4 separate regions of the Homo sapiens genome follow, and all the other regions are linked to region 3. The links are contacts of gene promoters, found by promoter capture Hi-C in blood cells and fetal thymus (Javierre and others, 2016). All regions are on one chromosome and are shown on one strand. The core of a region is centred on a gene start or on the middle of the fragment in contact, and the rest is flanking DNA. Distances in the headings are between cores, read along the strand shown. Region 1 has its middle 77 kb from the start of ESM1. Region 2 has its middle 110 kb from the start of ESM1. Region 3 holds the start of CDC20B (cell division cycle 20B). Region 4 has its middle 95 kb from the start of ESM1.

What was found. Contacts are between HindIII fragments. The CHiCAGO score rates a contact against its expected background, and 5 or more counts as called.
Region 1: a fragment that was not itself captured here is called in contact with the fragment with the promoter of CDC20B in region 3 in 13 of 17 cell types (total CD8 T cells, naive CD4 T cells, total CD4 T cells and 10 more); the score reaches 22.6 in total CD8 T cells.
Region 2: a contact is called between a fragment that was not itself captured here and the fragment with the promoter of CDC20B in region 3, in 2 of 17 cell types (total CD8 T cells and naive CD4 T cells). The highest score is 5.8, in total CD8 T cells.
Region 4: a contact is called between a fragment that was not itself captured here and the fragment with the promoter of CDC20B in region 3, in 3 of 17 cell types (total CD8 T cells, naive CD4 T cells and activated CD4 T cells). The highest score is 5.9, in total CD8 T cells.

The regions. Positions count from the first base shown.
Region 1 is chr5:54,905,414-54,911,776 of GRCh38, reverse strand. No RefSeq gene overlaps it. Among named protein-coding and RNA genes, the nearest start is that of ESM1, 77 kb to the left of the region's middle. The HindIII fragment of the contact is 640 bases long and covers 4,085-4,724 here.
Region 2 is chr5:54,869,972-54,876,555 of GRCh38, reverse strand. It overlaps the pseudogene CSPG4BP. Among named protein-coding and RNA genes, the nearest start is that of ESM1, 110 kb to the left of the region's middle. The HindIII fragment of the contact is 2,048 bases long and covers 3,334-5,381 here.
Region 3 is chr5:55,169,226-55,175,268 of GRCh38, reverse strand. It overlaps CDC20B (cell division cycle 20B), which reads left to right and starts at 2,092. Exons shown (of 12, transcript NM_001170402.1): 1 at 2,092-2,331; 2 at 2,619-2,681. The coding sequence starts at 2,269. MIR449C (microRNA 449c) reads left to right here and starts at 2,916; the gene lies at 2,916-3,007. It overlaps MIR449A (microRNA 449a), which reads left to right and starts at 4,647; the gene lies at 4,647-4,737. It overlaps MIR449B (microRNA 449b), which reads left to right and starts at 4,527; the gene lies at 4,527-4,623. RefSeq lists silencers at 1,657-1,986, 2,074-2,368. The HindIII fragment of the contact is 4,347 bases long and covers 1,885-6,043 here.
Region 4 is chr5:54,887,919-54,894,219 of GRCh38, reverse strand. No RefSeq gene overlaps it. Among named protein-coding and RNA genes, the nearest start is that of ESM1, 95 kb to the left of the region's middle. The HindIII fragment of the contact is 3,525 bases long and covers 2,682-6,206 here.

The sequences.
Region 1 (6,363 bases), core at 3,155-5,654, 270 kb after region 3:
CTAGGAGCTGGAGGCAGAGCCCTGGACTTCAGAGACAGGACCTGCTCAAATGGATCTGAGACTCTAGGGGGGAAGCCAGAGAAGAAATTACAAATATGGTGAGTGTCATAAAAAGGGAGGTACAGGGAGCAAAAAATGGGAAGGTTTCTCTGAGGTAGTAGACTTTAGGTTAAGGCTGGATGAGGACTAGAGCTTAGCCAGGTGAGAGGGTCTGTGGAGGGGGGTGGGGGTCAGGCAGAGGCAGTGGGAAGAGCTGCAGAGATCTCCACTCAGGCCTAAGGCATTGGGGCCCAGCTCTGCAGAGCTGAAGTAAGATGGCCTCACACAGTCTCCCAGAGGCCAGGTGCGCTGTGCAGCTGTTTCCAGGCACTCCTTGTTCTCTCTCTCCTTCCACAATCAGGGCCTATTCAGGAGTTTGAAATGGCTGTGTGGTTGTTTCCTTTCTTTCTAGTCCAATAGTCTTTCCCTTCCAAGTCTAGATTCTGCTCTGATTCTCGGGGCTCCTCAGGGTACTTGATGTTCCCATTCAGTCAGGGTCCCGTGGGCTTTGTAAGCAGGGGTCCTGTGACCAGCCTTTTCTTTGGTCCTGGGTATGTGGCTTTTTCATTTCCCCTGAGTTCAGTCTCCTTTTTGAATCAGCATACACGGTGGACTCATTCTTATTCTCCATCTCTGTCTCATTCTCTTACACACACACACACACACACACACAAGTGTCAACAATATCTTTTAAGTTGAAAGCTCATGGAGGAACAAAGAACACCATGCCCTGCACTCTCTTTTTCTTTTCCAGCCACTAGAGACTGCTTCTAGAAATGTTCAGGCTCTCTGAGATATTTTTAAGTTATCAAACATGGACCCTACCACTTAGCTAAGATTATAAATCTGTAAGTCATATGCCTTATCTGGGATTCAGTTTCATCATGTATAAATTGAAAAAAATATGCCTGTCCCTTTAAAGAGTTGTTGTAAAGAATAAAGTGATTTATATTCATGAAAATACTATTCAAATACTTATCTTATTTTTCTTTCTGGTCAGAGAATCCAAAGTAGCCTGTGTCTCATACAAGCATGAATCATGATATTGAAAAGGTTAAAACAACAACTGCAACAAAATACACCAGCCAGATGGAGGCTGATGTCTGTGAAAAAGCAGCTTCAGCTGTAGCCAATGATTTTAACTTAGGAGGTAAACACAAAAAGGCTGGGGCCCCTGAACAAGGTACTTGGTTGGTGGTCAGAACAGCACTGCAGACAGTGGAAACTTAATGAAGACTTTCTGCTTCTGTGGATGCAGACGATGGCAGTGAAGAGGATGATCATCATCAAAGGTCATCTCACAATTGAAGGTCAGTGCATGAAAGGGCTGTTGAGGAATGCAAGGATTCAGCCATTTTCCTGATGATGCTCTTGGGAGGTCTTCTCATGTCTAGATTCACTGAGGAGTGGACAATTATTTTCCACCCATCTGGCTCTACTCTTTGGCTTTCCAATTTACTGCCTGACTACAGAGCCAATCAGCAGATATTTGCAGTGGAATCTCGCGAGTTGGCTGAACACTGAGTCTGAAGCTGTATTTGGAGTGCCACAGGCAATTAACCACACATCTCTCTTTCAATGAACCAGTTTTCCAGGGACTCAATGGTGGGCTGATATCTTGTGAAATAATCTTGTGGGTTTGTACAGAGGGTAATGGGCCACATCTCATGATTCAAGACACATGGCCACCTTGAATGTACAGTCATAATTCCAGGCAAATAATCAGAAGTGTCTTAGGGGAAAGTCAGGTGAAACAGGATAGTCACTGCATCATCAAGCAGTACTAACCCAAGGCCTGTTCGACATCTCTGGTTGCAGCTGAAGTTCCTGGAGAAAATATATTGAGCTTTTGATGCTGCCAGGGTACAATTTAGTAAGTTGTTAACATGTTCCAAGAAATTACCTAGTGTTCTATTGACAATTCACATGTAGGGATTAGTTTAATTCTTATTTTAAAGCAATCTTTGTTTCCCTAAGAGGTCCAACAGGGCTACAATGATAATAAAATACTAATCTGTGATTCAGCATCCACAAGCAAAATCACGAGGTCCTTAGCAGTGCCCATTGCCACAGACTGAAAAATAATCCTCTCCTTTTTCCAAAGGCATCTAGGATCTGACATTTGCTCACTAATGGTTCATGCTGCTTTCTCCTTTTACCTCTGTCACCCTCACTGGGGCTGCCAGTTTCTAGGAGATGAGGCTGCTTAATGTCTTGGCCAAAGACTGGCCTCAGGAGTCAGAGGATGGGTTTATCCCCCAGCTTGGCTGTGTGACCCTGGGTGAACCACCCACCCAGCCTCTCTGTGTCCAAGGTTGGTGCCCTGTCCCTTTCTCTCATTATGTTCTTGCCCCTGGCAGTGCTATAGTTACAGCTGTTAGTCTGTACGGGCTCAATAATTCAACACTCATTCAACAAATATTTACTAACTGCCCACTGTGTGCCAGATGCTGTTCTTAGTGCTTGCTGAAAAAACATATACATTCCTGTCCTCATGGAACTTCTAGCTTGCAGGAGGTGGACTATACACAAGTAAACAAAATACATAGAATGTCAGAGGGGAGGAGAGCTGGGGAGGAAAGGAAAGCAGGGGAAAAAGAGCCAGTGAGGGGTGGGGTCACTGACATTTTAAAGAGAGGATTAGAGAAGCCTTCAAGGAGAAAATGACATTTAAGCAAAGCCCTAGAGTAGGGAAGAGCATGAACCATGAAGATTAGGGGAGGGAAGCTTTCCAGGCAGAGGTTACAGTGAGGGCTTGTAGGTTACACCTCACAATGGGTGGGGTGAGGCTGGAGGGTTTGCAGTGCAGCCAGGAGGCTGATGCTGCTGGAGCCAAGAGAGCCCGAGAAGAGACAGTGGTGGAAGAAGAGTTCTGAAAATTAGGAGTGTGTTACAGAGGTTGTGCCAGTGCCCACTGGATGGGCTGTTCAAGTCTTCATCAGGACTTTTTCTCTGAGTGTGTGTTTGGTGGGGGGTTTGGGTGGGGACGGTGGATGGCAGGGTTTTAGCTGAAGAGAGATCTGAATTATGTTTAAAAAGATCATGTTACCTGCTGTGTTGAGAATAGACTTGGAGGAGAGGGTGGTGTTGCAAAAACAGAAACAGCCAAACCAGTTAAGAGGCATCTACCATAATCAGGACAATACACAGTGGTGGCTTGGACCAGGGTAGCAGGGTTAATAGTCAGATTCTGGATTATTTTTAAGGCACAGCAAACAGGATGGGTAGGACAACTTCCCAAATCAATATTTCCAGTTGATCACTCTCCCAAGGGCCAGCCTGATGGTGTTAAACCACTACTGGACCACTCCACCTGAATGGCTTCGCAGAGCTCCAACTTTATCATGCCCCAAACTAGCACCCTCTAACACTACACCCACCCTAACCAGCTCTCTTCTTATTTTTTTCTGGATATAGCTCTTTAGAATCCTATGAGTCTTCCTTACTCTCCATATAGAATAGTTGATACATTTCTAAAGATTATTTCCTCGTCGCCATTTGAATCTAATCTTTTCTAATTCCTTTCTAATTCTACTGCCATAACTGTAGTTAGACTTCCCTTATCTCGCTCCTCAAGACTCAATTCCACAAATCCCGAGTAGCTGTTATATGCAAGGCACTGCTGGAAGTGCAAGGAGTCAAATACAACCCCAGTCCCCTAGGCAGTTAGCTAATAATGAGATGAGACCATAGTGAGAGAGGCAAGCACCAAGCTGGTCACCAAGCAGCCACCTCAAGGCATGGCCCCCATTTCCCTGATCACACCACAGAAGGGGCTGGTGCTCACACCACCCGCAAATGCTGACCTGGAAGAGGGCCCGAGCCCTGTCAGGTTGCTATTGCATCCCAGCTCTGGCTGAGTGCTTCCTTGGTCTGCAGCTTAACAGACCTGCAGCCATTTTCCCGGAAGACAGAACTCACTGTAGTGCAAGGACCACATCTCTGGATTCACTTACATCAGGGCTTGACTCTCAGTTCTGTCATTCATTCCCTTCAGGCCTTTGAGTGGGTTGCTTACTTTTCTCCAAGCAAGTTTTCCGAAGCTTAACGACTATAAATATAAAGTGGCTTGCACAGACTTGGCATTTGACGAACAGTAACTAATATTAGATGTCACTGTCTCCCCCTTCTGATCTACCTTTCACAGTGCCACTAGGTTCATTTGCCTAAAACACAGGTCTTACATTATTGTATTGTCTGCATGGTAATTTACCATAAAAAATGCCTTGATACAAGGAATGTGATGCATGTATGTTAGTAAATTTTAACCCACATCTCTTTTTGAGTTTTTGACATCCTTAAGCATTTTTACTAATAGAAATCATCTAATCTTCTCTTAAAGATAAGCAAATGGTAGGAAAAAAAATTTTTTTTCTCTTCTTATATCTTTTTAGATTAATTAGTAAATCTGAAAGTATTTATTATATACCTGATAGGTCCATGGACTGGGCAATAGAAGATAAGAAAGATATAATATTTGTCTCCTGCTTTTAAGTGTCTTTTAAGTTGAATGGGAGAGACTAGAGTCATATAAAACAATTAGAACAATATATTTGGAAGAATAAAAGGAGTTTCTATGGGAACCGTGAAACTCACACTGTGTACTGAAGATTGGATAGATTGAGATAGGTGGAAGGCAGAGAGAAGAAATTCCAATTTGGATCAATGATGCTGTAGTCTAAGCTTGTCCAACCCGCCCACATGCAGCCCAGGACAGCTTTGAAATTGGCCCAGTACAAACTTGTAAACTTTCTTAAACATTATGAGACTTTCTTTCTCTTATTATTATTTTTTTAGCTTGTCAGGTATTGTTAGTGTTAGTGTATTTTATGTGTGGCCCAAGACAACCCTTCTTCTTCCAATGTGGCCCAGGGAAGCCAAAAGATTGGACGCTCCTGGTAGTCTGTTATCTTCAACTCTCTGTTGTAGTCTATTTTCTCATTGACTGTCTCATTCAGCAAATTCTGTACTGAAGGTTTAGCTTTGTTAAATACTCTATTGAATTACAAATTGATTTGTGATCTTCCACAAACCTCCTTCTGCAATACTTGGGAATTTCAACCCTCTGTGTCATTTTCTACTACGCTTTGTTGAAAGTAGGACCTGTGTTGGACAAACAAAGCCTGATAAAAAAGCCGAGTTACATATCAGCTTTTCCTTCTCTGGGAGTGTCAAACACCCAAGTAAAGCAGTTTTCCCCATGGAACCCAAACAGCTTAGGTTTCCAGTTTTAAATCAGGAGATTTCTGTTATGCAATTTATTCCCACTATTTTTCTCATTTCACATTGGAATGTTGATCTTAAGCAACTGTCAATCCTACAAAAATACACAGGGCATCTTTTAGCACAGTATCACTTTTTATTTCATTTGGCTGGTAAAGACAGCTTTGTACAAGGGAATTTAGAACTTGTCAACCGAATTTTGGTTAATGTCACTTGAGTTTAAAGAGACTAGATTCCTGTTTCCCTTCATTTTCCTAGAAGTGAGATCTAAATTCAGTTTTATTTCATAGAGCTTGCTGGACACAGGGCTGGCTCCAAAGACAGCACTTAAAGTAGCAGACAGTTATTTTCTCAAAGCCTAATGGCGCCCTCAAGCGGCACATTCCATTGCAAGATTTTCAATCTCATGGCAGTCTTTTCAGAAGTTTTGTTTCTTAGAAGCAGGATAAATTTTTTTTTGAAACATTAAAGCAATCAGTTAGGTTTATTATTTTTAAAGATGACAATGCAAATTCCTCCTTATTAGTCTTCAATCCCTGAAGGTTCAAGATGTTTCTTGCCTCCTGCTGCCATGAGAAGGAAACTTAGAGGCATGCGGTGATGCTACATGGCACGGCCGGTGGATGATTTCTCAGAACGTTCTCATGGGAAGGGTGGGTGCACTCTTAGAATCAGTCATTCCTGCTGAGTTGATGTTTGAACAAGGGAGGGGGCTTGAGAAACTAGGTAAAAAAATGCTTTGAAACTAAGCATGTTCTGGCCTTCGTTTTCCTACACATACAGTTTTAAGAAGGCGCAGTGATTTATACTTCACAAGGTAGTAAATAGTGCTGAATTCTTTGGTTTCCTCTGAAGCATCAGTGATCAAGTTACTGGTGGGATGAATGAACCACTTTGGTGATTGTTTTTCCAGGGTGACTTTGAACACAAAATCTTTGAAGTGTTCTAGTGGATGGATTCAGAGCTTCCCACAGGCTGGCAAACCATTCATGAGACCTCCTCACATTCCCCAGTTCAGTAGGAGTGAGGTGGCCTATGTGAGAGGTAGGAGAGCCACAGGCTGTGGGTAGTCCAACATCTGTTGCATGGGTGTTTTATTAG
Region 2 (6,584 bases), core at 3,108-5,607, 300 kb after region 3:
AGAAATTTTAAAGCTGAGCGTCCAGGGGAGACATCACACATTGGTAGGATCCGTGATGCCCCACAAGCCACAAAAACCAGCAAGTTTTTATTAGGGAGTTTCAAAAGGGGAGGGAGTATACGAATAGGTGTGGGTGACAGACATCAAGTACTTAACAGGGTAATAGAATATCACAAGGCAAGTGGAGGCAGGGCGAGATCACAGGACCACAGGACCGAAGCGAAATTAAAATTGCTAATGAAGTTTTGGGCACCACTGTCATTGATAACATCTTATCAGGAGACAGGGTTTTGAGATCAACCGGTCTGACCAAAATTTATTAGGTGGGAATTTCCTCTTCCTAATAAGCCTGGGAGCACTATGGGAGACTGGAGTTTATTTCACCTCTGCAATCTCGACCATAAGAGACAGGTACGCCCCGGGGGGGCCAGTTCAGAGACCTACTCCTAGGTGCGCATTCTCTTTCTCAGGGACGTTCCATGCTGAGAAAAGGAATTCATCGATATTTCTCCCATTTGCTTTTGAAAGAAGAGAAATATGGCTCTGTTCCGCCCGGCTCACTGGCGGTCAGAGTTTAAGGTTATCTCTCTTATTCCCTGAACAATTGCTCTTATCCTGTTCTTTTTTCAAGGTGCCCACATTTCATATTGCTCAAACACACATGCTGTACAATTTGTGTAGTTAACGCAATTATTACAGGGTCCTGAGACGATATACATCCTTCTCGGCTGACAGGATTAAGAGATTAAAGCAAAGACAGGCATAGGAAATCACAAGGATATTGATTGGGGAAGTGATAAGTGTCCATGAAATCTTTACAATTTATGTTTAGAGATTGCAGTAAAGACAGGCATAAGAAATTACAAAAGTATTAATTTGGGGAACTAATAAGTGTCCATAAAATCTTCATAATCCACGTTCTTCTGTCATGGCTTCAGTCGGTCCCTCCGTTTGGGGTCCTTGACTTCCTGCAACACTCTCTCCCTTCTTTCCTGTCTTCCTGTCTGCTCCATTGCTCAGGTCTTTCCAGAAGCCATTGCCTGAAACCCTCTGACTCCGCCTCCCTTGATTAGGCCCCGTGCTTCTGTTGTGTGTTTTTCAATTAATAATCAAGCAACTGTAATAACTTGATTAGCAGTCTCTCATGTTCACCATTGAATCCTCAGTACTAAATAAGATGCTTGGTATCACTTGTGGACAGAATAACCCATGCATAGGACGGCCACTTAAATCTGCCCCTTTCCAAGTGAAGTCATTAATCTCACTTTAGAGATTAGGGATAGGGAGAGACACTTTATAGTTGGATTGCTCCTTCCCTTATACCTCAGGTGGCCCTGGAGGTGCTTCTGATGGACCAACTTTCTAATATCACTTGGGTGCACACTCTTCTTTCCAAGTGGCTTTCTTCTTTGGTAGGCTGCAGGCCTCTTTGTTTCATTGATTCTGCATCTTCAACTCCTGACAATACCTGGCACATAGTAGGCACTCTATAAATAGTAAGCCAAACAACAAAAGCATAGAACCAAAATAAAACAAAAAACCGGAGAGATGTAATTTGGAAGAAGGAATGGGAACCAATTCTAAGGAGGATATAATGAATAAAATAATCACCTTCCTGGGAGAAATTGCAGAGCAGTCTAAATGTTTTATATATTTTACCAACGGAAGACTCTGGCTGCCACTCAACCATTTCCTCATTTCTGTAAGCATGCAAAACCAGGAGGTTATCTGATTATTGCTCAACTTTGTTTCACTAATACTGAAATCACACTTTTTCTTCGCTGAATGTAGGGATCACGTTTCTTTTTCCAGGAGCCAATTTCACTCGTGTTTCTATTTGCTCTTTATTATTATTTTGAGACACTTACTAGGGGCTGCAAAAGATAGGATCTACTTAGGGGTATGTGAGGACATGAACTGGCTTTAGGCTGTCAAACCAGGTTTTAACCTAGTTCCTTGCTTTTCCCCAGAGGCAATGGAAATTTCTGGCCACCAGCTGGGACTAGAATTGATTTAGTGCCAGAGAGGTGAAACGTGGGAAAATATAGGGATATTGTTTATTAATGTTACTTAGTCATTCTCAGCGGTAGCTTTTATGATTTAGAAAACATTTCCTGGTTTTGAAAACTTAACAATACAGCCTCTGAGTCTGTCAGAAATTGAGGTGGGGGCATTCAGTAATGGGAAGGCCTGGAGGATAAACTCAGCTGGTCAGTGGGTATGTAATTGCCATCTGTCAACTTTAATGACCTGAGCTCTACATTCTAGTTCTATTAAGTTTAATTATTGATGCATATTTTAAAGAGAGAAAAGGGTGCTTATGCATATTTAGGAGAGTCTGTAGGGATCATCTTCATTTCTGTATTAACTTCCTATCTTCATAAAAAACTGGATTAGTAGTGGGGAAAGCTTGGTTTGTGTCCTAGCTCTGTTTCTAACCAACTGTTGACTTTATGCAAGTCCCTAAGCTTTTCTAAGTTTGAGTTTACTCAATTATAGAATAAGGGGTCTACTAGGTCAGTTTAGTTTGGTTCAATAAATGCTTGCTTACTGCCTGCCTGTTTTAGGTCAGGTTCCCTAGTGAGAAAGCCTGAGTGAGGGATTGTAGTGCAAATGAATCACTGAGTGATTTTTCCCAGTAGAGAACGTAAGGAAGTGAGGGAAGCAGGATAGGGCAGGAGAAGATGCCAAGCGAAGATGTGGTTTCAACTGATGTAACCTCAGCCTGATCCCAGAGGGGAATCTGGAATATGAATGGCAACACAGAGTTCTACATATTTTATAGATCAGTTCCAATCAATCTTTGTCTGTGGATTGCTCTCCAGGGTAGGGGGTGTGATATCACTGGAGCTTTTGGATAAGGCAGTTCAGCAACTGAAGGATGGGGGCACCAGCCTGTTAAAAGGGATCAAAATGGGACACCAACAGAAACTATGACACCACCCGTGTGCCAGGCACTGTGCTAGGTACTGAAGAGATGAGATACAAAAGGTATGGTCCCCGATCTTAGAAAACTTACAGAATAATGCAGGAGATAGATGCATAAATAAGAAATGTTAACACAACTTGGCAGGTTCTAGGATAAAGAAATGCACAGAGGAGCAAAGAGGGGAGGCAGATATTGCAGGCTAGATTCCCCAAAACTTTACTTGGAGCTTGACTACTCTGATGATGACCTCCTGGGTCTGAGTCTCAGCTTCTTTTGCCCTCCTGCTATAGAAGATGAGAAGGACTTTGCTAACAGGAAGGCCTTCTGGCTTTCACACTTAGTTTGTAATTGTCAACTAATCTTTCCCAGCTTTTCCTTATCTTTTCCAAAGCTTCATTCAAGCTTGGCAATAGGCACCCAATTCCATTGTCTTCATAGTTACTTTTTATTTGCCCTGTTTTTAAGAGCTCAGCATTTCATAGCCAGGCCTAACGTATTCCTTTATGCTCTTACACCAAGCCAGCTCACCACCAGTGAAGTTTGCAGTCATTGCCAGGGCTCTCTGTGGTTCACCTACCACCAGTGACAGTGTCCTAATTACCATTTGAGTAGTGGTTGGTCCAGCTGCAAATCTCATCTTATCATCTGCTTTTTCAGACCACTTCCAGTACCAATTGTCACAGGTTGGGCTTCTGGGGAGGCAGAATCTGAAATGGAACTTAGCATGCAGGAGGTTTATTAGAGAGAGCTCATAGGATCAACTCCTATGGAGGGGAAAGAAGCATTCTGGGGTAGATGGAGGAGTTGAATTGTAATTTCATCTCAGTTGAAACCTCAGCTACCTCTCTTGAGAGTTGTGAAGAGGGAATGACCGTTCAGAGCTTTCCAGAGTTGGGGTGAGAGAACACTGAGCCTTTTATACACCCATGTCATATCTCTGGGTCACCCCAGGAAGCAGATAAGGCCTTGGGAAAGGCAACTTTCTTCACCAGGATCAGTCCCTGAAAAGAGATGATAATATAAGGTGGAATAGTCATTGCATAATAAATTTACTAATATATTTCTTTTGTTATTTTCCTCTTAGCATCTTTTTATGGTGAAAGCTATGTGGAGTTCAACATCATAGAAGTTTCCTCTGAGCTATCTCTTCAATTAAAATTTCATACCAGCAAACCACAGGGATTACTTTTGCTTGCAGCTGGGACAAATGACTATTGTATAATAGAACTTAAATCAGGAACCTTATGTGTATGATTTTAAATCTTGAAAATACATATAAGCATATAATTACTGGAGAGAAAAGCAGTTGAGAGAGAAAGAGAACAAAACAGCTACATGTATTGATTGCTGTTATTTCATTAGAATAAAATGATGTGCCATTTGTATAGGTTGGGATCTCCTTCGGTTTTACTAGCATGGCTTAAATATTCCAACTTTAAAATTTCCTGAGTTTAGTATGTAATCTATAAGCATGGGAAGAGTTTTCATGTGCAAATTTCTCTCTTCTTTTTCTTTTGTGAAAGGTCCGATTTTCTCAATAAAACATTATGAAATGAAAAGTGAGATGAGATTGATTAATTATGATTCTTTTTCAGGTGAGAGTAAATTTGGGTACAAGTGAACAAATGCTCCTTTCTGAGCAGAGACTTCATATGGATGACCTGGTTTGGCATTTGGTGGAACTGTGCTATGTTAAGCATAATATTTCCTTTGTTATTGACAAACGTTATGAGACAACTGGCCAAATGGCAGCTGGTGGGATGCATAATTTGAATTTTCAACATGGAATCTATGTAGGAGGCCGCAGGGCACTCAATGTACCTTATCTGTACGGAAAGCTCCCCAATTTTTGAGGATGTATGAAGGATGTGGTATTTAACCAGAGGGAGATCCTTACGTCCCTTAGATCTTACCCTGGTTTTAAGAAGGTTTATGAGGTGTCACTAGGATGCAATGACGAGTTTTTTTTGCAGGGGAGGATGAAGCCATCAATTTCTTTAGCTCCAGATTCTCTGTCAGTTTTCCAGAATGGAAAGTGCAAGGGTAAACACTATTGGAATTTACTTTGCAAACTGTAACTCAGCAAGCCTTGCTTTCATTTCAGTTGGGTAAGGAAGGAGATTTTGTTGCTTTGTAAATAGATGAAAGTCTATTGAAGGCTTATGTAGGAAGGCATAAAAGTAAAACTCAGCTTTCTTCTTTTAGTTTTGTCAGTGACAACAAGTGGCATGTTATTCAATTCAAATTCACAGGGGAGTATCTGGACCTAACAGTAGATGAAAAAAAGGTAAGGAAGTCACTGCCTTTGCAAAGCAAACATTTGTATCTGAAGGAGCCCTTTTTGTGGGAGGTCTTGATAACCAAATGTGGGAAGAAGTAAAGAGGTTAGAACTTGCCTCTGTGCCTGGGAAATTTGCTCGAGGAACCTCTTTCAAAGGGTGCTTAAGAAGCTTGGAAGCCAATTCAGAAAAGAGAGCGTTAAGGGATGCCCTTGTTTTCAAAGATATTCCTGTTGTTGTAAAACTGAGAGTGTTGATAACACAAATCCTTCCATAACAGCGATAGAAAATCTGCATCAGTCAGAAGTTTTCCTTTCCACTGCCGTCCCTGAGGTCATCAAGCCTTTTCTTCAAGATGAGAGTAGCGATTTCTTGGTTTTGAATAACTTGCAGGTCCAAGAAGGTGGACCTTACTGAAACAAAGGCACATGAAACTGGATGTGAAATTTAAGGATTTGGGTATCCATCATTCTCAAATACTATTTAAAATAGAGGGAAGGCCTATTCATGGGTTCCTTCAATTAAATGTACCACCTGAGCAAGTAATGGAGACAGCTTTTACCATGTTAGACTTATGGCAAGGAAAAGTTTGATATGTCCATGATGGTTCAGAAGAACCTATGGATTATTTTACATTTTTGGTTTCTCCCAATAGCAAGAAAGAAATGCCATTATATCTGCAAGAACGTGTTCCACATGTGTTTAACATTATTGTCATTCCAGTCAATGATCCCCCATACCTTAAGGTACCAGAAGGAAACTTGCTTCTTCTATTTGAGAACTCTAAGAAACAACTGACCCCAAGTATGATAGACATGTCAGACCCTGACACAGATTCTTTGAGTCTTTGTATTTCAGTTCTTGGCAACTTCAATTCAGATGCTGGGGTTTTAGAAAATGCAAGTGATCCCGGGAATGCCATTAATCATTTTACACATGAAGATTTAAGAGATGGCAACATTTTCTATGTGCACAGGGGTCATCGAAACTCTCAGATTGTTCTGAGAGCAAGTGATGGAGAGCTGGTTAGTAATACAGCAGTGGTGTGGAACATGGCTGTTTCTTGGGACTTTGCAGTGGCCGTTAGAACTGGTGTGGTTGTAGAACAGGGTGGCACTCCTCTGATTACATGGAGTAACTTGTCAGTGGAGGTTAATGGTGAATGGCATGAGATGGAGACCCGCTCTGACATCACTCATCCACCTCAGTATGGCCAGATTCAGCGGTGAGGGTCAAGTGGGAAATGGAAACAAGTTAGTACCTTTTCTCAGTGTTCTGTTGATTGGAGTCGGGTCCAGTACTATAGTACATTGAAAGAATTGCAGCTAGAAAATGTTACAGATCATTTTAAATGTAAAGTTAACATAGAAGGAAAA
Region 3 (6,043 bases), core at 843-3,342:
ACTATTAAGGTTATGCATTTTGTGGGGCAAAAATATCACAGAAGTGATGTGTCCTTCTCATGAGGCACAGTATGTCAACATGTCTCACTAATGGTGATGTTAACTTTGATCACTTGGTTAAGGTGGTCTCTGCCAGTTTTGGCCAGTGAAAAGTTGTGATTTTATTTTTTGTGTTTAATTATAGGGGGAAGTATTCTCATCATATGCAAGGTAATTTTAGTATTCTTGACAGTTATTACTGTAATATTTGCCAAGTGGCGAGTTTCTGTTTCCATCATTCTGAAGTTAAGTTTTAATCTGAATATTCAACTGCATAATTACTTCCTAAAGATATTTGACTAATACTTTCTCTACTTCACACTAGGGGAAAAAAAGACATTTGGAGGCTGTGTATATGTATGCTGTGGAATTAATGGCTATAATGGAATTTATAAATGTATTTTTACAGATAATTGCATTCTAAATGAATGATTCACTATTCTTAGTACTTGTAAGAAATTGGATTCTAAAAATCCCAATTTACATGGATTTATGAGCTTATTAGTTGAATTGCTTTTATTCTGTGTTTATACAAAATGGTTAAATGTAAACTATATTTAAAAATAGAACAAAGATAATATGTCCTTCATATTATTTCCAATATACTTTGAGTTTTAGTTGGCATTTGCAAAACTGATCATTTAAATTAACAATGCATCTGACTCTCATCCAATAATAGTTTACTTTTATTTAGTCTTAATGTTTGCTGAAAGATTTACTGGAATTTGGAATGAGTACTCCACTGCAAGGAAAATAGACTTCTTGTGGGTGAAACTTAGAGATCTTTTAATCCACTAGTTATTTGACTATCAAACATTTTGATATATGTCATTTGAAGATTAAGTTACCCTATGCAGCATTATTATTGTACATAGAAAACTGGTCTAAGATTGGGTCTTAGTTCTAATGCCATTTTTTCTTGCTTTCAGTATGAAGGAAAGCAGGGGAGTGAGTTTTAGGTTTTTTTTTTTTTTTTTTTTTGGATCACTGACCCTTTTGAGTATCTGCTATCTATGAACTGTTTCCCCAGAAAAACACACAAACTCACATTGCCTTAGAGCAAAATACAATCCAATGTCAAAAATGGTTGGGGGGTTAGCAAGGGAGGGACAAACAGGCTGCCAGGCTGTCAGAGGCTTCCCAGATGCAGTGTCCCCTCCTGCCATATGGCACAACTCGGCTCTCTTGGCAGCTCAGATGGGCAGCTAAGGCTGCACAGCCCATCTGGTTCCCTGTCATTTCCCGCCAGACCTCTTCCTCAACCCTCAATATCTTCCTCTCCCCCTTTATCACGGAGTCCCCAGTGTGCTCAGCTTTCTGGCCCCCTCTTCACGCCTTATGAGGTCCTGCCTGTCACTGGTTCTTTCACTACCTCTTCACCTCTCTCACCTACCCCCTGCTAAGGAACAGGGCTCAGAAGCCCGAGTGAGAGGACCTGACTACTCCCAATGTATAGAGCAGGGAATAATTTATTGCATAAATATGTCAACGCTCTCCCTTTTGATCGGCATAGAAATCTTGCCACGTTTTCTTGCCTTCTGAAAACGAAGAGCTGACGAACACGCCTCACATCTATAGCTGACACAGCGATTACCAACGGACAGAGGCCGGAGAGCTGTGCACGCTCGGATCCTGCAAAGGCAGGGTGTGGTTGGAGAAAGAGAAGTGGGTGCAGAGGAACAGGGATCAGGGCCGTTATAAGGAAACATTCTTGTTTCTGAAAATGGAAAGATCGTGAACTCCCAGAACCCGCTTCTTCGCCCGCCAACCCCTCCGCCTCCTGCCGCGGTGGCAGCCCCCGGCGCCAGGCCCAGCCGCAGGCCCGCCACGGCTCGCGGCAAAGCTTGGCGCCCGGGTGCGCGCCTCGGCCGGAGGCGGTGGCGGGGCGGGGCCCAGAGAGGGCCGGCAGGGGCGGGGCCGCGGCGCGCGCCGGGGAATCCCACCCGGGCTCTGACGACACCGCGGCGCCGGCCAATAAGAAGCCGGCGAGGGGGATTCCCGCGCCGACTGCCGCCCCGCCGGCTTTTTAAATGGTACCCTGGGGAACACCTTGCAGCGGCGGTGGGAGGAGTGGGGGACCTGGAGGGAGGTGGTGAAATAGAATGGTCCTGGGGGACGGGACTCCAGGGGTTTGACGATTAGGCGTCAAGACTGACTTAGACCTGGGAAGAAAACCAGAGGCAGTCGAGCAGAGAGGCCAAACGCCAGGCAGGGCGAAGTCAGCCGGAGATGGAGTGGAAACTGGAGCGCACCGCGCCTCGGAGGGTCCGCACGGAAGAGGAGATGCTGTGGGTGAGTAACACCCTTTTCTGCATTCTCCCTAACTCTCTAATGCGGGGCCGAAGGCCCCGTTCATAATATCTGTTTAGGACCAAGAGGTGGTACGAAACTCTAAGCCCTGGTCGTAAATTTGAGTGATGTAATTTAGTTATATTCTGAAGGTGCCTAGTTGCCAAAAAAAAAAAAAAAAAAAAAAAAAAGTGTAATCTGACAAGCACAAGATCTAGAAAAATTCCACACCTGAAATTATGATTTTCCTAAATAGTTTCTCCCTCAATATGTTATCTGTGTTTTCAAAGGAAAGTATCATGCGTGTGCTCTCCAAAGACTTGAAGCAGAAGAGAAGTCAAGATTCCGCCAACGTGAGTCCAGGGCTTGTTCTTGTTCTCTGTTTTAATTCTGATCTTGAACAAACGAATTCTTGGTAAATAATGTATTTGTAGGAAGTTTGAGCTGGTCTGAAAATATGAGAATTTTAGTATCTTATTACATACTAAAAAAAATTTCTTTATGAAACTGAAGATCCCAGACAAATAATGCAATCGTTTGCATCTGAATCGTACTTTCTAGTTTCTGCCTCCACAGCAAAGGATAAAGCTGGGATGTGTCAGGTAGGCAGTGTATTGCTAGCGGCTGTTAATGATTTTAACAGTTGCTAGTTGCACTCCTCTCTGTTGCATTCAGAAGCACGCCCCCCAAAGAAATGGAAATGGTGCCATCTTGTGGACAATGTGGAGAAGTGGCATAAACCATGGTTCTTAACGTGAGCAATTTAAAGTTGATCCAATGTAGTACCTGTTCTCCTTGAAAGACCAAACCCAAAGGTCTTTAGTGTCTCCTGTAATCAGTGTAAAAGGAAACAAATTTAAATGGTTTTATAAACGTGTTTCATAAAGAGCCTTCATCTGCTTTAAATCTCTGTCACCATTTACCATGCTTCTCTCTAGGCTCAATAGTTCATCTTCCTTTGACCTGTACGCAGAGATTCTAGTTCCAAATCCACCACCATTTTAATAGATTTTTCTAGATCTTATATAAATTTTGCAACTAGGCACTGTGGCTCATGCCTGTAATCCCGGCACTTTGGGATGCTGAGGCAGGAGGATCACTTGAGGCCAAGACTTCAAGACCAGCCTGGACAACACAGGGAGACCTTGTCTTTATAAAAAAACTGCAAAAATTAGCTGGGCATGATGACATGTGCCTGTAGTCCCAGCTACTTGGGAGCCTGAGGCAGGAGGATTGCTTGAGCCCAGGCGTTCAAGGCTGCAGTGAGCTATGATTGCACAACTGCACTCCAGCCTGGAGGACAGAGCCAGACCCTGCCTCTTAAAAAAAAAAATTCAGTATTCAAGTGGTAACATCCTATATTGAATACATAATTGCATTTTCAGAACTCGATTACTAATGTCATTTCTAGTAGGAGAAAACTAATTGCATTTAAGCCCTTACATTTCTTAAATACTTTAATGTTGATTTTTTCCCCCAAACACTGCTGCAGTTTTGTGTCGTGCACAGCTTATGTATTATCACGACTCCTAGATATTTTACTGTCTAATACAGACAAGTAGTCTTTGGATCAGTAAACAGAAGTGATTTGAAAAGCTATAGTTAAGTAACTTTTTATTTATTTTTTTGAGACAGAGTCTCACTTTGTTGCCCAGGTTGGAGTGCAGTGGTGCAATCTCGGCTCACTGCAAACTCCAGCTCCCGGGTTCAAGTGATTCTCATGTCTCAGCCTCCTGAGTAGCTGGGATTACAGGCAGCACCACCACGCTGGGCTAATTTTTGTATTTTTAATAGAGACGGGGTTTCACCATGTTGGCCAGGCTGGTCTTGAACTTGTGACCTTAGGGGATCAGCCAACCTTGGCCTCCCAAAGTGCTGGCATTACAGGCATAAGCCACTGCGCCCAGCCTACAGTTAAGTAACTTTTAAAATTCATTTGTACTGTAGAACATATTTTTATCCAAGCATTTAATTTGGAAAACCTAAATGTAAGTATTCTGAAAGTTTTAAAGTTTTTGTTTAACTTTTATGTTTTTGACTAGATTCAAGCAAATATTGATTTTATTTCTTATAGTCTTGAAGTAATACATTTTGTGTATAAGTTTTCTTTAATGTGACTATTAAGATTAGAGTTCTGCCACTATGTTTCATGTTACAAATTTAGCCTCAGTGACTGCCTGGGCCACGAGAATCGGCAGTGACCTGAATCAGGTAGGCAGTGTATTGTTAGCTGGCTGCTTGGGTCAAGTCAGCAGCCACAACTACCCTGCCACTTGCTTCTGGATAAATTCTTCTTGTCAATGAAGTGCTCTGGATACCTGTGTGTGATGAGCTGGCAGTGTATTGTTAGCTGGTTGAATATGTGAATGGCATCGGCTAACATGCAACTGCTGTCTTATTGCATATACAATGAACATCAGAGTGTAACTGAATCTGTAATTAGTGTGTGTTTATGTGTACTTTCTGCTATGAAGCAAGCCACTATTTACCATAATATATTATTGCCATTAGCTTATAATACAGTAATACTTACAATGCACAGTTTTATAATGGTAAGGAAAGTATTACAATTACTTAAATTTTTTCCTTTTAAGAAAAATTTACTTATGCCTGCTTTTCCATAACTAAAAATTTTTAAGAAATATTTTTGGAGTCTTTGGAGTCTTTCGGAGTAGACAGTGTTTAAGTATTTATGAAATTACATGTTTTTAACTATAAGGTTTAGAATGTAATAACAATGTGGAATGGACCTACAATGTGTCCCCAGATTTTCAGTGAAGTCTTTAGGATTCTTTCTGCATTATTAGTTTCTTTCTTTTTTTTTTTTGAGACGGAGTCTCGCTTTGTCGCCCAGGCTGGAGTACAGTGGCGCGATCTCGGCTCACTGCAAGCTCCGCCTCCCGGGTTCACGCCATTCTCCTGCCTCAGCCTCTGGAGTAGCTGGGACTACAGGCGCCTGCTACCATGCCCGGCTAATTTTTTTGTATTTTTAGTAGAGACGGGGTTTCACCGTGTTAGCTGGGATGGTCTCGATCTCCTGACCTCGTGATCCACCCGCCTCGGCCTCCCAAAGTGCTGGGATTACAGGCGTGAGCCACTGCGCCCGGCCTCTGCATCATTAGTTTCTAAATACAGCATTAGAATTGGTTTCTATAGCCATGACTGTGTGTGTACCAACTGAAGGGAAAGTTGAGGTAATTTTCCAGATGAGTCAGTCAACTAAAACATTTTTCACTTGAAATATCAAGAATATTGGGGATTTTTTTTGGGTGGGGGATGGTTTACATTTTTTTGGAAGATCTACCTCAATCCTTTCACTTCATTTTCTGTAAAATCACAGGTTCATGAAATATTTGGAAGACAGCATGAGATCTAACAACTTGTGAAGTGGGAAGAACTGACCATACAATATGACCTTAAATATATTCTCATTACCTTGGAGGCATTTTGACCCACGAAGTAGCATAGATATGTGCTGGCTTCCAGACATGCAGTATTCTTGTGCGGACATTTGCAGCCAGTCAGTGGAACTGACTTTGGTGGTGCCATCAGTTAGTTAAGCCATAGATGAGATATAAGAAATATTTCGCATTCTCTACTGTACTGGATTATAAGTTATTGGTAAAATAATTTTTATGCTTTCCTTATTTAAACATATTTCTAGAACATGGGTTAAATAGATATCTATAATTTGATTCTTACGCATTTTACTACT
Region 4 (6,301 bases), core at 3,195-5,694, 280 kb after region 3:
ACCATATTTTCTTTGTCCAGTCTACCACTGGTGGGGATTTAGGTTGATTCCACGTCATTGCTATTGTGAATAGTGTTTCAGTGAATGTGTGCATGTGTTTTTATGATAGAATGATTTACATTCCTTTGGTTATATACCTAGTTTTATAGGATTGCTGGGTTGAATGATAGTTCTGTTTTTAGCTCTTTGAGGAATCACCACACTGCTTTCCACAATGGTTGAACTAATTTGTATTTTCACCAGTAGTGTAAAAGCATTGCCTTTTCTCCTCAACCTTGCCAGCATCTGTTATTATTATTATTATTATTTTACTTTTTAATAGTAGCCATTCTGTCTGGTATGAGATGGTATCTCGTGGTTTTGATTTGCATTTCTTTAATCATTAGGGATATTGAGTTTTTTTTATTATGCTCATTGGCCACATGTATGTCTTCTTTTGAAAAGTGTTTGTTCACGTCTTGCCCACTTTTTAATGGGTTGCTTGTTTTTTTTCTTGTAAATTTGTTTAAGTTCCTTATAGATGCTGGATATTAGAACTTTGTCAGATGCATAGTTTGCAAACACTTCTCTCTCATTCTCTAGGTTGTCTGTTTACTCTGTTGATAGTTTCTTTTGCTGTGCAGAAGCTCTTTAGTTTAATTAGATCCTATTTGTCAATTTTTGCTTTTGTTGTGATTCATTTTGGTGTCTTTGTCATAAAATCTTTGGCCATTCCTAGGTCCAAGATGGTATTGCCTAGGTTGTCTTCCAGGGTTTTCATAGTTTTGGGCTTCACATTTAAGTCTTTAATTCATCTTGAGTTGATTTTTGTATATGGTATAAGGAAGGGGCCTAGCTTCAATCTTCTGCATATGGCTAGCCAGTTATCCCAGAACCATTTATTGAATAGGGAGTCTGTTCTCCATTGCTTGTTTTTGTCAGCTTTGTTGAAGATCAGATGGTTGTAGGTGTGCGGCCTTATTTCTGGGCTTTGTATTCTGTTCCATTGGTCTATGTGTCCGTTTTTGTGCCAGTACCATGCTGTTTTGGTTACTGTAGCCCTGAGGCATAGTTTGAAGTTGGGTAGCATGATGGCTCTATCTTTGTTCTTTTTGCTTAGAATTGCCTTGGCTATTCAGGCTCTTTTTTGGTTCTATATGAAATTTAAAATAGTGTTTTCTAGTTTTGTGAAGAATGTTGTTGGTAGTTTGATAGGAATAACATTGAATCTATAAACTGCTTTGGGCAGTATGGCCATTTTAATGATATTGATTTTTCCTATCCATGACCATGGAATATTTGTCTGTTTGTTTGTGTCATCTCTGATTTATTTGAGCAGTGTTTTGTACTTCTCATTGTAGAGATCTTTCACCTCCCTGGTTAGCTGTATCCCTAGGTATTTGATTCTTTTTGTGGTGATTGTGAATGGGATTGCGTTCCTAGTTTGGCTCTTGGCGTGGCTATTGTTGGTGTATAGGAATGCTGGAATGATTTTTGTATGTTGATTTTGTGTTCTGAAACTTTGCTGAAGTTGTTTATCAGCTGAAGGAGCTTTTGGGCCATGGCTATGGGGTGTTCTAGATATAGAATCACGTCATCTATAAACAGGGGTAGTTTGACTTCCTCTTTTTCTGTTGGGATACCCATTATCAGAAATAGTTTTCAAGGTGTTATCAGAGACCACCCAATGGGCTCTTCCCAGGTTTATCTCTGGGACCACAGTCAGTCCTTGAAGCTCTCTACTCTTTTAACTTCAGAGACCCAGCACTGTCCTAGTACTTCTTCTCTCTCTCTCTGACTATACACCACCCTTCTGGTGACTTTAGGCTTCATGAACCAGCCCCTGGATAAGCTGAAAGCAAATGTTCAGGATGTTTCTAAATGCCAAATCTTTGATCTGGGCTCTGAATTCTAAAATTGGCAGAAAGATAGGCCTACCAGCCTTACCCACAATATTATACTGTAACCAGAAGTGGCTGGAATCATAGTTTGACATATTAGTTTAGTTTTTCCTTTTGTGAGCACCCTTTCACTTATAATTCAAACAAGTAATCTTTGTGCCTATGAATCTCATACCCATAAGCGTTTAGGTTTTTGTAACATAAAAGCTACAATAGCTCAGGGGCTCTTTCAACTTTCTCCTGGGCTGCAACCCTCTATGAGCCAAGAACAAAAACACAGCCAAAAGCAGAGGGAGAGAGTAGGTTCTTCCCCATGTCAAAAGAGATTATTTTCCAGGGCTAGGGAGAAAAAATGACTAGGCATGGTTGGGGGGGAAAAGAAGAGAATAAACGAATGGGGGTTATGAGCTTTCCCTGAGTTGACTCTGAGGAATTTACCAAAGATGCCAGGTGGCTGGGTCTGGCCAAGGATGGAGAACCTGCCTCTTTGTGAGCCTCAGTCCACAGACTGCCCAGTCTCCATCAGAAAGAACCCATCCTGTGCCTGTGCTCTAGGGCCAAGTGTGCTATTTATTCTGTTGCTGTCAAGTGAGGACTTTGCATTTGCTGGCAATCCTCAACGAGATGTTGAATCAAATCCTCAGTTGGTCCCCAGTTTAATTCATTGTATGGAAATTGCCCCTCACAATCCCTACGACCCTTGGAAGATCAAGAAGGGGTGGAGCACTATCCACATGATGAGGGTGTTGCCAGTGAGGAAGAACACACGTGTGTATGTGATGGGGAGAAACTGAGCAAGCTTGAGAAATTGCACAAACTCCTGATATCCTGAGATGCTACTCTTCCTTCTCCTGTTAGCCCTCGGACAGAAGCTGTCTCCTAAGGAGGAAAGAACAGGCTGGAAGCACCAGGCCCTCATGTGCTCCTGCTTTCTAGGCCTTGTACAACATCTCCATTGACCCACTCTTTAAAATCCAACTCACATACCCAAAAAGGCTCCTGCTCTCCTCCTGTTTATCATATGTGGCTTTCCTTTGCAGTTAAGGCTCTTTCAGTGGGGTTCTGTTCCTTGCAAGCAAACTACTATGGTGGAGTAATATTTTATAAATGAAACAAATCCCTGCATCTCCCCACACCCTTTTTCTCCTTGGTGTTTCCATGTCTTTGAACAGTATTCTTCAAGGAAGAGATATCTCATTTTGCTTAAAAGCAACAGGAGTGGTTAACAGTCAAAATGCTGCCTACCATTATGTCTCAAGCATATTTTGTGAATGACCTCATTTAACCTTACAAAATCCCAATGGAGGTAGGTACTACACTATGTCCATATCTCAGATGGCAAAACTGAGGCACAAAGGCTAAGTAACTTGGCTTGCTGAGTGGTGAAGCTGGGATTTGAACCTCTGACCACTCACAGAGTGAGGGGTTATAAAGCCTCCGTGAAAAGCTGCCTTCCTAAATAATGGAGCTGTTACCCCAACTGCTTTTTAGATGCATAATTCTCCTCCTTCTGGTGGTACTATTTTAACTTGGGCCTTGGGGTCTCTCTGGGCTCAGAGGGGGACAAGGGAGCTGAATGAGTTAGGCTCCTGCAGAGTCAGCCTGGCCCCAATCTAGTTCTCTTCTGGTTTCCCAAGCTGCCCTTCCTGGTACCAAATATACCTCAGTTTCCAAGTTATTAGTTCTGGGTCTCTTTGTGGGTAGAATCTCCCATAAAGTGTTTATCTTCCCATAAATCAAGGAAGAGCAGAATCCATTTGCACTTTTCTACTTGGAGAACATTTCCCCTTTTCTACTCAGACCAGCTACCTTGAAATATTCCCCTTGGGGCTAGGCAGAGTTTTCCTTCTAGCCAGGATATAGACCTTTTCTGCACGTGCTCTAGGTCACTGAGTTAATGTCACATTAAGGGGCTGTGTGGGTTCTGCAGAGTAACAAGCGACTTCTCGGTTGCTGGAGGCAGCCAGTTCACCTAGAATTGCTCCACTCTCCTTGGAAAAAGGTTGTGGTTTTTGAAAAATTAGAATCCTTGACAGAGGTCCTCAAGAGATCCCTGTCTTTCCTGAGGCAGCTTCCCAGAAATTAGATAATTTAATCTCTGCAGAAAACTCAGAAGTTTTCATTTGCCCATTCTTCCTTCCTTCTGTTGACTTCCTGGGAGACAGAAAGCATCCTGAGGTACTCTTTCAAAGACTTTTTTTTCTGAAACCAGCAGTGACTTCTGAGCGTCTAACTCATTTTCACACATCAGTGCTCACTGAGGTCACAGCCATTGCCTCAAAGAAATTGGCTCAAATTCAACTATTTGTTAACCAGTCTGGGAGTAGGGTAGGTTCCATAAGAATTCTTAGCATTCCTGGGTAGGCATCTTAACATGGCAAATACAAGTCTTCTTGTCTACATCTCAATTCTGTGCAAATGATACATTTATGTTTTAGTAATCAAACTTATGATTTTACACTTTATTCTGCTGAGTGGCTAAAACTCCATCTTGGTTTATGCAGTGTTTCCTCCTTCTCACTACCCAGCAAGCCAAGAGGAAAAGGATTTCCTGGGTTAGAGGACAGAACAGTCAAGGCAAAATGGTCAGTGCGATGACATTGGTGGGCCTTACAGAAAGTCAGAGCCCCATGGAAGGAGCCCAATCCCACAGCTAGATGAATGGACCCCAAAAGACAGTAAGATTTCCAGACAGAAAATGTCTGTGTGGTGAGTATTAGTAGTCAAGGCCTTACCCAGCCTCACAGAGCTCCTGCACTAGGGGTGGCCCAAGAGCGTTCAGAGTAGCTTGAGAGAAATGGAAAAGGTTGCTGACCTGATGGGACCATTCAGCTGGGAAGGAGGCGGTCTCCATGGAGCCTGCATGGACTGACACCTGAAGACCACGTGGGGTGAAGAATGTCTCAGGGGGGCCTGCACAACGGTGAGAGTGTCTTGTAACAGACAACTGCCACACCCCTTCTTCAGTCATCTTGATGTCTTAGCACTACATAAGTTCCAGGAAACTGCAAAACAACTTGGGGCAGGGGATGCAGGAAAGAATCCTTCAACTGGCTGAGTTGTAGTTTTGCATCTGCAACAGATTGGAAGGTCAAAACAGAAATCAAGTTGATTTTAGAAAAATACTGAAAGTCATAATTTGTGCACACCGGAATCTGTGAAGCTAGAGTTATAGACTAGCTCTAGGAAAGTATGGATTTACTGAAAGAACTCAGAAGAATCTCATGGACATAAAATTCAGGAAGTACATCTGGACTTCATAAGAATGGGAAAGCCACCAGGCAACGATTTTCTGTGGCTTGATTGTCCCTTACGATCAGCTTTTCTCTGGAACATGGTACCAATCTCCTCTCTGCAAAGACCAAGACAGAGGCAAGTGGCTCCTTCTGCTGACTTGTAGTCCCTGTTCCTCCATAGCTTGAATGGAATTTGGATCTCTGCTGGATTTTTATGAAGGTACCACCTGCACATGACTTACTGGTTCTGTGACTGCCACCAGATCATTGCATTCTTTATGCTTCTTGGTTGAAAGTTTTGAGAAGGAATCAGCTTTGACATTCTTGTTTCCCAGGGTCATGCCCTTTAGATGAGGAATTCACCTGGTCCAACTGTGTGGGGTCAGAGGGTGAGGGGCCATGCAAATCTGACACAGCTGCTCAAGCTGGTCACATCAACAATGGTGTATGGGCTGGACAGTTCCAGAAAGGAGACTTTTGGGCCCAGAGGCATGACCCAACTTCCAATTCACTTTTATTAAAATTACTGCTGTACATGTCTTATGTCTCTCTCTATGTTGCAGCTTCCTAGAAAGCAGAGTCTGTAACTGATCTCTGCATGCACCAGGGCATCTTTCATGTGCCTTTTGCATTTGAAAGAGTTCAGTGAATATTTGTTGAATCAATGAATGGCACATCCCTATATTTGTTTTATGCTCTCTATACCTTCATTTCTGAGTGAACCATGTTCAGGCCAATATCTGAATAGGATAATTCCTGTTGCTGGGGTATAGCAGGAGAGTGCCAGTCAAAATGACTAGGTTAGAGTGTGGCCCTTATTTGGGTGGATTTCCTGACCAGACACTACAAAGAAACATCCTTAGAGTCACCACATACATGGGTTTTCCCTAACTGAGCATCTTAACTTCCCGGTATTCTAGATCCATCTTAGCTGCCATGGAAATTGGATGGAGATCACATTCAATCTTTGAAGCATTTAAGTGGTAATTTAGAACTAATTCAAACAAGAGGAGCAAGTGGTGCCCTACGGGGAGCAAATTCATAGTTATCTCTTTTTGACATTTTGAAAGATGTTTCTAAATTAAAAGCTTCAAGTTATTGGCAATCACTACCTTGGTTTGTGTAAAGAAATCCAAACTTTACAAGTTTCCTTGTGTGCCCATTTAAAGAGCTCTATTTAAATGA